Regions from separate parts of the Homo sapiens genome. Here all the other regions are linked to region 1. The links are contacts of gene promoters, found by promoter capture Hi-C in blood cells and fetal thymus (Javierre and others, 2016). All regions are on one chromosome and are shown on one strand. Each heading gives the region's core, a stretch centred on a gene start or on the middle of the fragment in contact. The rest is flanking DNA. Distances are from core to core; before and after follow the strand shown.

The links. The method cuts DNA at HindIII sites, captures the fragments that hold promoters and counts their contacts. A CHiCAGO score of 5 or more calls a contact.
Region 2: a contact is called between a fragment that was not itself captured here and the fragment with the promoter of MMRN2 in region 1, in 4 of 17 cell types (naive CD4 T cells, non-activated CD4 T cells, total CD8 T cells and 1 more). The highest score is 5.9, in naive CD4 T cells.
Region 3: a contact is called between a fragment that was not itself captured here and the fragment with the promoter of MMRN2 in region 1, in 1 of 17 cell types (M0 macrophages). The highest score is 5.8, in M0 macrophages.

The regions. Positions count from the first base shown.
Region 1 is chr10:86,955,706-86,959,371 of GRCh38, forward strand. MMRN2 (multimerin 2) reads right to left here and starts at 1,910. Exons shown (of 7, transcript NM_024756.3): 1 at 1,673-1,910. The coding sequence starts at 1,836. SNCG (synuclein gamma) reads left to right here and starts at 2,894. Exons shown (of 5, transcript NM_003087.3): 1 at 2,894-3,113. The coding sequence starts at 2,993. RefSeq lists enhancers at 1-181, 3,184-3,666. The HindIII fragment of the contact is 12,184 bases long and covers 1-3,666 here.
Region 2 is chr10:86,758,644-86,762,309 of GRCh38, forward strand. All of the region lies in intron 1 of BMPR1A (bone morphogenetic protein receptor type 1A), which reads left to right. Among named protein-coding and RNA genes, the nearest start is that of BMPR1A, 3.9 kb to the left of the region's middle. The HindIII fragment of the contact is 3,501 bases long and covers 1-3,460 here.
Region 3 is chr10:87,086,724-87,090,389 of GRCh38, forward strand. All of the region lies in intron 1 of GLUD1 (glutamate dehydrogenase 1), which reads right to left. Among named protein-coding and RNA genes, the nearest start is that of GLUD1, 6.3 kb to the right of the region's middle. The HindIII fragment of the contact is 6,569 bases long and covers 1-3,666 here.

The DNA.
Region 1 (3,666 bases), core at 660-3,159:
CGCGCGTTTCCTTCCTTTCTCACCAGCCCATCCGGGTTTGGTGAGAGAGCATGGACTTGCCCTGTGGAGACTGCAGCTTCTGGATGTGGGAAGGAGAGCCCTGCAGGCAGGGGGCTTCCAGGCTTGGGACACCTGGGCATTCCTGGGCCAGGTACATGCACCCTCCCACTCAGAACCCCAGAGAAGGACTGCGGGGCCCCTGCAGGGCTGCCCATCAGCAGTTCCCAAACCCTCACTCCTTGGGGCTAAGGGAGCAATGTCTCTCCCACAACCAAGGGGGTGGGGAGGAAGAGGAGCAGCTCCCTCCTCCCTCCCGTCCACCGGGTCCTCTCATCCTCCCTTTCATCAAAAGGCGGAAGGTGGCCTGAGACTAAGGCGTGGAGCTTCCTTGGTCCTGAAATCAGAGCGGAGTGGCTGGATCCAGCCCGCCCCTCCCCCGCCCCCTGCTCCCCTTGCCGCCCCACCACCGAGAATCACCTGCACCTCCCAGCCCTGAGCAGAGTTGGGGGCAGGCGGGAATGAGGTTTCTCCATGGCCAACTGCTCAGCCACTGTTCCCCACGCCACTGCCACCAGACCCTCACTAAGGGGCCTCTTGCCCCTCCCTGGTCAAATCTGTTTTCAGGAAAGCACCCAACAAACCTGCAACTCAGAAGCCAAATGAGACCTATCCCAGGCAGGTCCGCTCTGCGATGGTGGCTCTCATACACCGCACAGAAGTGTAAGTTGGCCCCCCCCTCACTCCCTAAATCCATGTAGATGCCCTTAGCCAAACAGGTCTGGTGTGTGGGGGCAGGAGGGTGGAGGTAGGAGCATCTGGGGGCTGGGGCTGGCTCCAAGTGCTGCAGAGAGTTCACTATGAGCTCTGAAGTCAAACTCAGATCCTGCTCCTTAGCTGTGTGGCCTTGGGCAAGCCCCTCAGCCTCTCTGAGCCTCAGGCTCCTCCTCTGTAAGTGGGGCTGTTGGAGGGATGAACTGAGATACACGTGGCAAGGTGCCTGGCCCTGAGACTGGGGGCCCCGTAAACAGCACCTGCTGCTCTGACTGAGGGGCAGTTGGAGATGAGGGGGGACTTACAGGCCCAACACCTCATCAGCAGGATGGGCCCTGGCTCTGTACACATAGAATGTTGGAAAGCTATGTTCTGGGTCCAGTTGCAAGACCATCCTGCCCACTTGCTGGGTCGCTGAGGCAGAGCGCCCTGGACTGTGCTCTGGAGAGCAGGGGGCCGTCTCTGCTCACTGCTGGGCAGTCAGAGTCAGGTCCCCAGGGAACTCAGATCAAAATCTCAGGGCAGCCTTGCTGGGTCTCAGCTTTCAGAATTGATTTCTTTGGAAGAACAGGAGGCATAGCCAGGCCAGCTGGCAATGGCTTCAGCCACAGTCCCCCAGTGCCCCATGCTGGGTGATTGATGGTAGGAGCTGTGCCTCCCTGCCAGCCCCCCAAGCCCCATTCCCTGCCATGGCTCCGACAGGGAACTCCCTGCAATTCTTAGGTGGATCCTGAAACACCCAGTCCAGACTACTTTTTCAGCCTCACAGATGGCCCAGAGATAGATACTATTAGCCCATTTCACAGATGGGACCCCAGTGAGGTCTAGAGAGGCTCTGCTCTAGCTGAGCTGGGACTCAGATCCTACTCCATGACCTCTGCCAAGGTCCAGGCCCTCTTACCGTCCTACGGGGTCCTTGCCGGTGTCCTCAGCCTCTGCCTTCCAGACCCCAGGTGTCCTGGAGCTCTGCAGATCAGAGAGGCTAGTACTGGAAGCCTGGGCCCATGCCCCCAGCAGCCCCCAGCCCAGGGGGCCCCCAAGGCTGAACAGCAAGCTCAGGATCATCTTGGTGGTGGGGCAGGCTCAGCTCACACTCAGCCTTGGCAAGTAGCTCCAGAAACTGCTAGTGACGTTGTCTTCAAGTTAAATCTCAGGAGGAAAAGAAAATACGAGGACAACAAAGAGAGGAAGTGGCCTGGGCCGGCCTACCCGGTGGGTCTTGTCCTGCCCCCCAACTACCCTGGCTGGCCCCACAGGGGCCGCCAACCACACAAGCCAGTTCCTGTCCCTGAGGACTTGGCTCAGGGACTCTGGGAATGTGGTAGACATGGGGTGGCCCCACCAAATGCATCCTTATGGGAACCTGCTCCCTGGGAGCCATGAAAAGAGCGTGGACTTCGAGGTGGGGCCACAGGAAGTGGTCAGGTCCATCTCAGGGGACCTGCTGCCCATCCACACTGCTGGCCAGGAAATGGGGGGCAATTCATGCCTCCTCAGCACCTTCAGCACTGGGCGGCTCAAAGAAGGGAAGGGACTATTCTGGGGTCACACAGCATGCAGCCAGAGGCCAAGGCATGAGGAAGTCCTTCATTTCCCCACCCCCACCCACCTCAGATCCTCCAACCGGTTTCATGGCAGCCCAGGGTCCAGCGGCATCCAGGATGCTGGTGGGTAGCTGCACAGCCCAGGCCGCGGGAGGTTGGCTGCTCTCACCTAACAGGCCTATGTGGCCCTGACCCCTACCTAGGAAGCTGGGGACAATGGCCAAGGCGCCTCCCCTCTCTGTGCCTGTCTGTCCAGGTGCAGCATAGACACAGCACCCCTGGGGCCAAGAGCACCCAGCCAGGGCTGCCCCCATGGGTGGGCAGGGCAGTAAATGAATGAGGGACAGGTTGGGAGGTGGCCAGCCCCCTCCAGCCCATGGAGGGCACGGGGCAGGAGAGCTGGGCTGAGCCAGCAGGAGCCCAGGGAGCCTGGTCTCTGCCTTCCTATCCTGGAGGAAGGTGAGGCTGAACCTCCTTCCCTCCCTCCCTCCCTCCCCGCCCCCACTGCACGCAGGGCTGGCTGGGCTCCAGCTGGCCTCCGCATCAATATTTCATCGGCGTCAATAGGAGGCATCGGGGACAGCCGCTGCGGCAGCACTCGAGCCAGCTCAAGCCCGCAGCTCGCAGGGAGATCCAGCTCCGTCCTGCCTGCAGCAGCACAACCCTGCACACCCACCATGGATGTCTTCAAGAAGGGCTTCTCCATCGCCAAGGAGGGCGTGGTGGGTGCGGTGGAAAAGACCAAGCAGGGGGTGACGGAAGCAGCTGAGAAGACCAAGGAGGGGGTCATGTATGTGGGTAAGTGGGGCATGGCAGGGTGGGACAGTGTGGTGGCCAAAGGGTGAGTGCCCAGTTACCTTCGCCAGACCTTACTCCCCAGCCCCAGGGAGGCATTTTGGGAGGGGGCGAGGCCCTGGCTATCAAGGTGGGGTCTCCAGACCCTGGAGCACCCACAATGCCCTGTGCACACCTATGTGTGTTTGTCTTTGGCCTCCTCGGGGCCTCTGGGTGTCAGAGACCGCAGACAGGGCTGGCTACCTGTCTGTGCACGCACACACACATTCCCAAGCATACCAGCCTCCCCTGAGCCTGGAGCCCCTGAAGCCATGAGCAGCCTGTGCTCAGGTGGCCCCCACCCTCTCCACACGGGAGCGGCTACAGCCAGGTCACGGATCCCCTCCCTCCCCAGAGAGAAGGGGCAGGCTGGGGGATGAAACCTAGGCTCAGTGTTCCCTCCCCCGCATCCTCTCCTGGCACTCTCCAGAGGAGGAAGGGGAGGTCAAGCCAATGACTCAGCTCTGGCCCATCCTGTCCTGTTGCTGCTTCTGAGGCCCGGCCACACCCGGGCAGG
Region 2 (3,666 bases), core at 460-2,959, 200 kb before region 1:
AACTAGCGCAACATTGAAATTAAAATTTAGTCATTCACAATCCATCTCTAGAGATTGCCAAGTGTAGTCTGCTTTTCCTGCCTTTGCCTGGTTGGTGGCTAGCCACTCATTTCTTAACCCCTTGTTATCTGGATTTCACCTTCACAAGGAACTATAACCTAATCAACACATTTAACTACCTTTTTCTAAGTCCTCTCCTTGAGTTTTCTGTAAGATTTAACATCGACTTCACATTTTCAGATGCCTCTCCTTGGGTTTCATTCATCTATACTCGCTGTATTCTAACACAGGGTCCAAGGCAGTAAGATACAACAGATCCTTCCCTCATGGAGCTTAAAGTCTAGTGGGGAAATACTTATTGAAAAATAAAGTCTCTAGTTAAATATAATTGTGATTTTAATTAAGGTGCAGAATATTATAAGAACTTCAAATGGAGACCTGATCTGGTGCTTGTGGTGGTGGGAGAATCTGGGAAAGATACCTTAAAATTGCTTTGTTGGAACCCAGGCAGATTGTGAAGGATGAGCAAGAGTTAACTATTAACTAGATGAAGAGGGGCCTTTTGTGACATTATACTGACTTTGTTCCTCTCCGCCACTTTTCTGCCTTCTGTTTCTTCTTTCCTCTTTAATATGCGTTCTCCAAGTTTCACTTTTCAGATCACTTTTCTCTATGTCTCTAGTCCCTTAGAATGATTGTTCAGACCTTTCTGTTGGAATAATTCTCAATTCTTTGTTTATGTGTCTTCTGAATCACGTTTTTTTGTTTGTTTGTTTTGTTTTTTCTTTTTTATTCAGTTGCTTTCTACATATCTGTACCTGATTGTTCTGAGCTGCTTTTCCTTAGCAAACTTGCCTCTTTGGTGTTCTTTATTTTTGTTGATGTCATACCAAACCCAAACCTTTTCCCATTTCATCATATCTTGTCTGTAGCCAACATCTGTTGATTCTGCTTTATGATATTGTAACTCTTCTGCTCTCTATTCTTGCTAACTGTGGGGCAATTCTGAATTCATATTGGTGTGAAGGTAGTAGTCAAATCATAAAACGAGTTGGGCAGCTTTCCTTCTTTTTCTCTTTTTCAGGATCATTTTAGACTGGGATTATCTGTTCCTTGAAAGTTTGGAAGACCTCCCCTATGTGACCATTTAGGCCTAGATCTTTTTTCTGGAGAGGACTTTGAGTAACACTTCAATTTCTTTAATAGCTGTTGGTTTGTGTCGATTTTCTGATTCTCATATGAATTTTAATGTTTCACATTTTTTTCAGGAATTTATTTTCAAATCTAGTGTTATTTGGCTTTCACGTAGTTCTCCCCCCACCACCCCGCGACTCCACCCCCACCCCCTAACTCTAAATCAAGTTCTCATCCCACCTGGACTAATGTTATGATTTTCTTGCCTTCACTTTTCTCCTTTATCTAATCTTATGTATTTCTGCCTAAATTAATCTGTAAGCCCAGTTCTTACCACTTCGCCACTCAGAAGTTTCCTAGGTCTTCCATTAAATGAAATATTTTCTGTGGTATTTGCCTCAGATTTACCTGTTTTTTTTTTTTTTTTTTTTTAATACCTTATTGTTTTTTCTTTCTTTCTTTCTTTCTTTCTTTTTTTTTTTTTTTTTTTTTTTGATACAGAGTCTCGCACTGTCGCCTGGGCTGGAGTGCAATGGCGTGAGCTCAGCTCATTGCAACCTCTGCCTCCTGGGTTCAAGGGATTCTCCTGCCTCAGCCTCCCAGGTAGCTGGGACCACGCCTGGCTAATTTTTGTATTTTTAGTAGAGGTGGGGTTTTGCCATGTTGGCCAGGCTGGTCTTAAACTCCTGACCTCAGTTGATCCGCTCGCCTCAGCCTCCCTGTGCTGGGGTTACACAGGTGAGGCACTGTGGCTGGCCTTTATAGCAGTTTTTATACAAATATTAGTTTCACTACTAGTTTGCAGGGTGGGTCTGTAACGGACTTTTCTTGCATATTAAAAGGAATAAATGGGGAAAGGCTCCTGTCTAGCCTAACAGTAGCTGTTGAACTGTCCTGATCTGACTATTGGATCTTAGGAGCAGCGAACCATGGAGAGAAAGGAAAATGGGTTTCCTATCACACTAAATTTTGAAGTAGGAACCATTTCTTTTCCTTTTCTACTTTCCCACCTTTTACTAGTTTTTAGGCTTTAGGATGTCTTTTTAACATCACAAGGTCCATATTGACCAAGTTGGACCAACTTTTTAACACAAGATTAAATGTTGACTTGCATTGAGTTATGTCCATTGTAAGATACACAGTAGTGTTACAGACCACTTAAAATATGCTTCTAGTTGTAAGAAGCCATTGATTGTAAGGTGCACCCCAATTCCGGAGATGCTAAAATATGAAAAATGGATGCATCTTAGAATTGATGAATAGTGTTTCTCTCCCTAATCAAAGCTCTTGGATGTGCCTGGAAATCCCCAGTAGTGTTTTTTGAAAAGAACACTAGTTAGGGGCATAGGGAGATCAGATGATCAGTAGACTCCATCTCAGGGTGGCCCCTGTGGTCCCTAAGCCAGTTCGTATGGGCAGTTTAATATATAACTAATGAGTAGACATTGAATAGATGAGTAAATTATCTTTGAGTATCTTTTATTTACTCTGATGTTGTAGACTTTGTTACTCTTTTATAGTTTTATATTTCTGATGAGCCTTCCTTTCTTATGGCACAGATTTGTTATACTGTTAAAGTCTGGAACAGTGGAGCTTGGCTCTTGATCCAGCTGTATATAATTGGCTGTTGACTTATGAAGGAGGACAGGAGTATGCTAGAGATAGGGATAAAATATTATAATCACATTTGCAGTTAGGGAGATTAGTTACATGTTGGAAAATCATTTTGAAGAAAGGAAGACTGAAGATGTTCAAACTTGTAGGAAGGTCTTTCTGGCCTAGCCCGGATTAAACCCATTTATGCCTAGTGTTCCACTATTGGAACGCTAAGCACGTGGGAGTTATTTATATCCTGCTCAAGGTCATCACCAAGGTCTGATTGCAAAAATTCAAAAAATTGCAGCCTCAGGCATAAATGGGTTAAGATGGTGGCAGATAATTAGGGCCTGGAATGGATAGGAGGCGATAACTAGCGTGGATGAGAGAAGGAATGGGATTGGCAAGAACAACTCCTGGATTTCTAGCTTGGAAAGCAGGGTAGATGTGGGTGACAGATATGAAAAATGAGGTGGGAGAGCTGGTTTGTAGAAGAAAATAGTATTGGATCACATGGAGTTTGAGATATCTGAAACAGCCAAGTAGGGATTTCCACTTGGCAGTTGTCTATATGGGTCTGGGGTTTGACAGAGGTTTGTGCTGGAGGTAGGCATTTGGGAGTCATTGCTGTATAGATTTTATATTCCAACAGTGGGAATTGGGTGGCTCTCTCAAGTGACTCTTGCTTACAAGTGACAGCCCTAACTCAAGTTAGCTTAAAGGAGGGAAAAGCTTCTCCCCACTAACCCCCATGATATTGAAAGGTCTAGAAATAGACATGGCTGGACCTAAGTGCTCAAATGATATAATTAATTGAGGTTGTCTTTTCTGTTCTTCACTTTTGTGGTCTCATTTCAGGCAGGTGCATATATCTGGCAGAGGAAGACATAGGTTATAGGTTATAGAATTACAGGTTATAGGTTATAGACCTCGTAT
Region 3 (3,666 bases), core at 812-3,311, 130 kb after region 1:
AGGAGGCTGAGGCAGGAGAATGGCATCAACCCAGGAGGCGGAGCTTGCAGTAAGCCAAGATCGCGCCACTGCACTCCAGCCTGGGAGACAGCGAGACTCCGTCTCAAAGAAAAAAAAAAAAAAAAAAAGGAAAAAATTGTTTTTTCTCACACATTTCTGACACCAAATGTGTGGGTTTTCCACACTAAGCAGTTCTCCAGTTCTCTGCAGATACAAACTGGGTGTCCTGCAATTCAGTTATGACACTGACTACCAGGGTTAGCACAGACCCCACAGCTCAAGGGCTCAGTCGCACAAGACTGTTCCCTACTTCAGATGCCAGTTCCAAGTCTTGGGTGCCCAGGGCACCCACACTTCTGTCCAACTTGGCTACCAACCAGGGGGTTCCCATGGCCCCCTCCTCAGGTTCAATAATGTTATAAAGGCTCACAGGACTCAGGGAAACGTTACTTATGTAAAGGATACAAATCAACAGCAACATGAAGAGGTACACAGGGCCATGTCTGGAATGTCCCCACTGCAGGAGCTTCTGTTCCCCTGGAATTTGGAGGGTACCACCCTACCCATACATGGATGCATTCACCAACCTGGAAGCTCTCTGAACTCTCCCCATACTCCAGCCATCAGTTAGGGTTTGTATAGAGGTTCCATTATGAGGGCATGACTGATTGCTGATTAAACTCAATCTTCAGCCCCTTTCCAATCTCCAGAGGTCAAAGGGTGGGACTGAAAGTTCCAAATTTCTAATTATGGCTTGGTCTTTTTGGTGACTAGTCCCCACCTTGAAGCTACCCAGAAGCCCATTAAGAGTGTCCTAGTTAGAACAAAAGATGCTCCTATCACTCAGGAATTTGCGACATTCAGGAGCTCTGTGTTGGGAACCAGGCAAAGAGACCAAATATATTTACTGTCACAAGCCCTTATTTCTCATTATTTACAAATGTAGTTTGTCCTCATGACCCCCTTACACACAGTTCCACTTCCTGCCTTGGGTGAAGCCACCCCCTCTTTATCTGAAATGGCCTTATCCAACTCCTATCCAGCCTTCTCTGTTCCCACATCAAGACTGTCTGTCTGCCAGGCACGGTGGCTCACGCCTGTAATCCCAGCACTTTAGGAGGCCGAGGTGGGCTGATCACATGAGGTCGGGAGTTCGAGACCAGCCTGACCAACATGGCAAAACCCTGTCTCTACTAAATATACAAAAATCAGCTAGGTGAGGTGGTGCATGCCTGTAATCCCAGCTACTTGGTAGGCTGAGGCAGGAAAATTGCTTGAACCTGGTAAGCAGAGGTTGTAGTGAGCCAAGATCGCGCCACTGTATGCCAGCCTGGGCAACAAGAGCAAAACTCTGTTTCAAAAAAAAAACAAACAAAAAAACAAATAAACAAACAAGATTGTCCTTGGTTTCCTTGAACTCCTACTGCAACAACACATGATTTACTTTGTTTTGTTTTTTTTTTTGTCATTTATTGACTGGTTCTAGGAAAGGAAAATGTAGAAATGGAATACTGAGCTTATAGCAAAACAAAAAAGACATAGGGTACAAAGGAGATTTGAATCTGCTCTACTTGGGAGAAATCAATGAAAAAAAATATTCCAAGAAATAAAAAAATTCAACTTTGTTTTTTTAAAAGAACCCTCTGCATAAAGTTCAGAGATCTTGCCTGCAGGAACAAAAAACACATAATAGAAAAATTGATTTACTTAGAATATAGACTATAGTTCATAATAAAAGCAGTCCTTATTTGGTAAACCTTCAATACGAGTACATCACCCTTGGTTATTTCTTTGCTCTTTCTCTCTTGGCATAAAAGAAAAAAAAAATTCATGCAAAATCCTACTAAGGCCCAATATGTACAAAATATCTTTTAAAAGTCCTATGTTGATATATTTGTGATAATGACAAACGATAAAAGAAGTCATACTACTGACAACCTTTGAAATTTTCATTTGTCATCTTTCACATTTTCCTCTAGCCTAGAAGCAAATCAGAAGAATTACGTCTGATAGACTTTCTCCAAGAATAATAATCAAGAGAAATAGCAATTCATAATAAACAAAGCATTTTCTTAGTTTTTAATGAAGAAAACTAAGAAAGTAATTTCAAAATTATTCAATAGAAAATCTTTAAAGATAAATGGACTACACACTGGTAGAGAAATGAGTTGTTCTGGCTAACACATTAATCTCTTAAACACCAAAGTCTTCAAACCTCTTTTGATGGAAAACTGTTTAAAATGTTATTTCAGGTCTTCGGAGTTGGGTGTAGGGGAAAAAGGTTATTTCATTTCCTTAGCAATTAGAATAAATGGACCTCTAGAGATATCATCTATGCTGAGTTTTATATGCAAAGCTGTTTGAATATGTATTTTTCTAGGAAGAAGGTAGGTCTTCTAATAGCTTTTAACAGAAATTTCAAAGGTATCTATGATCCAAAGTATTAGGAAGCATTGTGTCAATGGCATGAAGTGGTTCTCAATCAGCGCTTACAATTAAAAGCCTAAGATACAATTTGTAACTTTTTGCATAAATAAATCCCAGACAACAATGATTAAGGTGGGTGCTGGAATCAGATGCCCAGAATCTGAACCTCAACTCCACTACGTACTAGCTGTGTCACCCTGCCAAAGGACACTTCACTCCTCAACCTTAGTAGCCACATTTGGAAATCAGGGACAACAGTGTATTGCATGAGGCATAAAAGCAATGATACATGAAAAGTTCTTACATGCATTGTTGCTATAAGGCATAGAACTGATGATGCATGAAAAGTTCTTAATAAAATGCCTGGCACACACAGAGCTGAATAAATGTTAGCCTTTGCTAATATCTGACCTTGGTGAAGGCAGTTGACCTCAAGTGAAGGCAGAATGTGTGTGGCTGCAGAATCTTCTAGGTGTAGTTGCCTTTTTGTAAAGATAATCGGAAGGTCTTGAGTAGCTCCTTCTCCTAGTTTGTCTTCTTGTCCTTAATAAAGCCTTTCCTGCCTTTAACAGTAGTATTTCACATATTAACAATTCCGACTTGATAGTGAACACTTGAATCTGTATTAATTTCTGCCTCTGGAAAGGGGAAAATATTGATTCATTTGAATAACTAGTCAGTTTTAGACAGCGGCATTAGATTTAAGACTGTTCATGGTTATATTGGGGGAAGGACTTGGGGTAGAGCTGCTTCACTTTTCATTTTGTAACTTTCGTTACTATTTGATTATGTGAATCATGCATGTGTATTTTATGGGTTGCTGAGTACAAAATTTATGGGCTATTTATGAATCAATGTGCTCTAAAGTGATACTAGAGATTTTTCTCTTTATTACTTACATTGTAAAAGCCTAATTATTGGGTAAAATAAATAGAAAAGAAGAACAGTCACGTGGCAGAGACTAGTGTCTAGGATTTTTTCAACATCTACAGGTTAGTATTTTAGTTTTTAATGGTTACAGAACCCTTAGTATTTTTAACATAAGTAAATAAAAACCGATTTTCCTAAGCACTCTGAATTATTAACAGCGGTAAACCTAATTTCTTCCCACTATATGCCAAAAGTTCAGGCTCAATTTTTATTTCTTGTACTTAAACACTACAAGTTGTACTGAACTTTAATATATATTGGTGCTTAGGATCCAATTTTTGATGCCCTAATTCTTACAAAGTATACTTT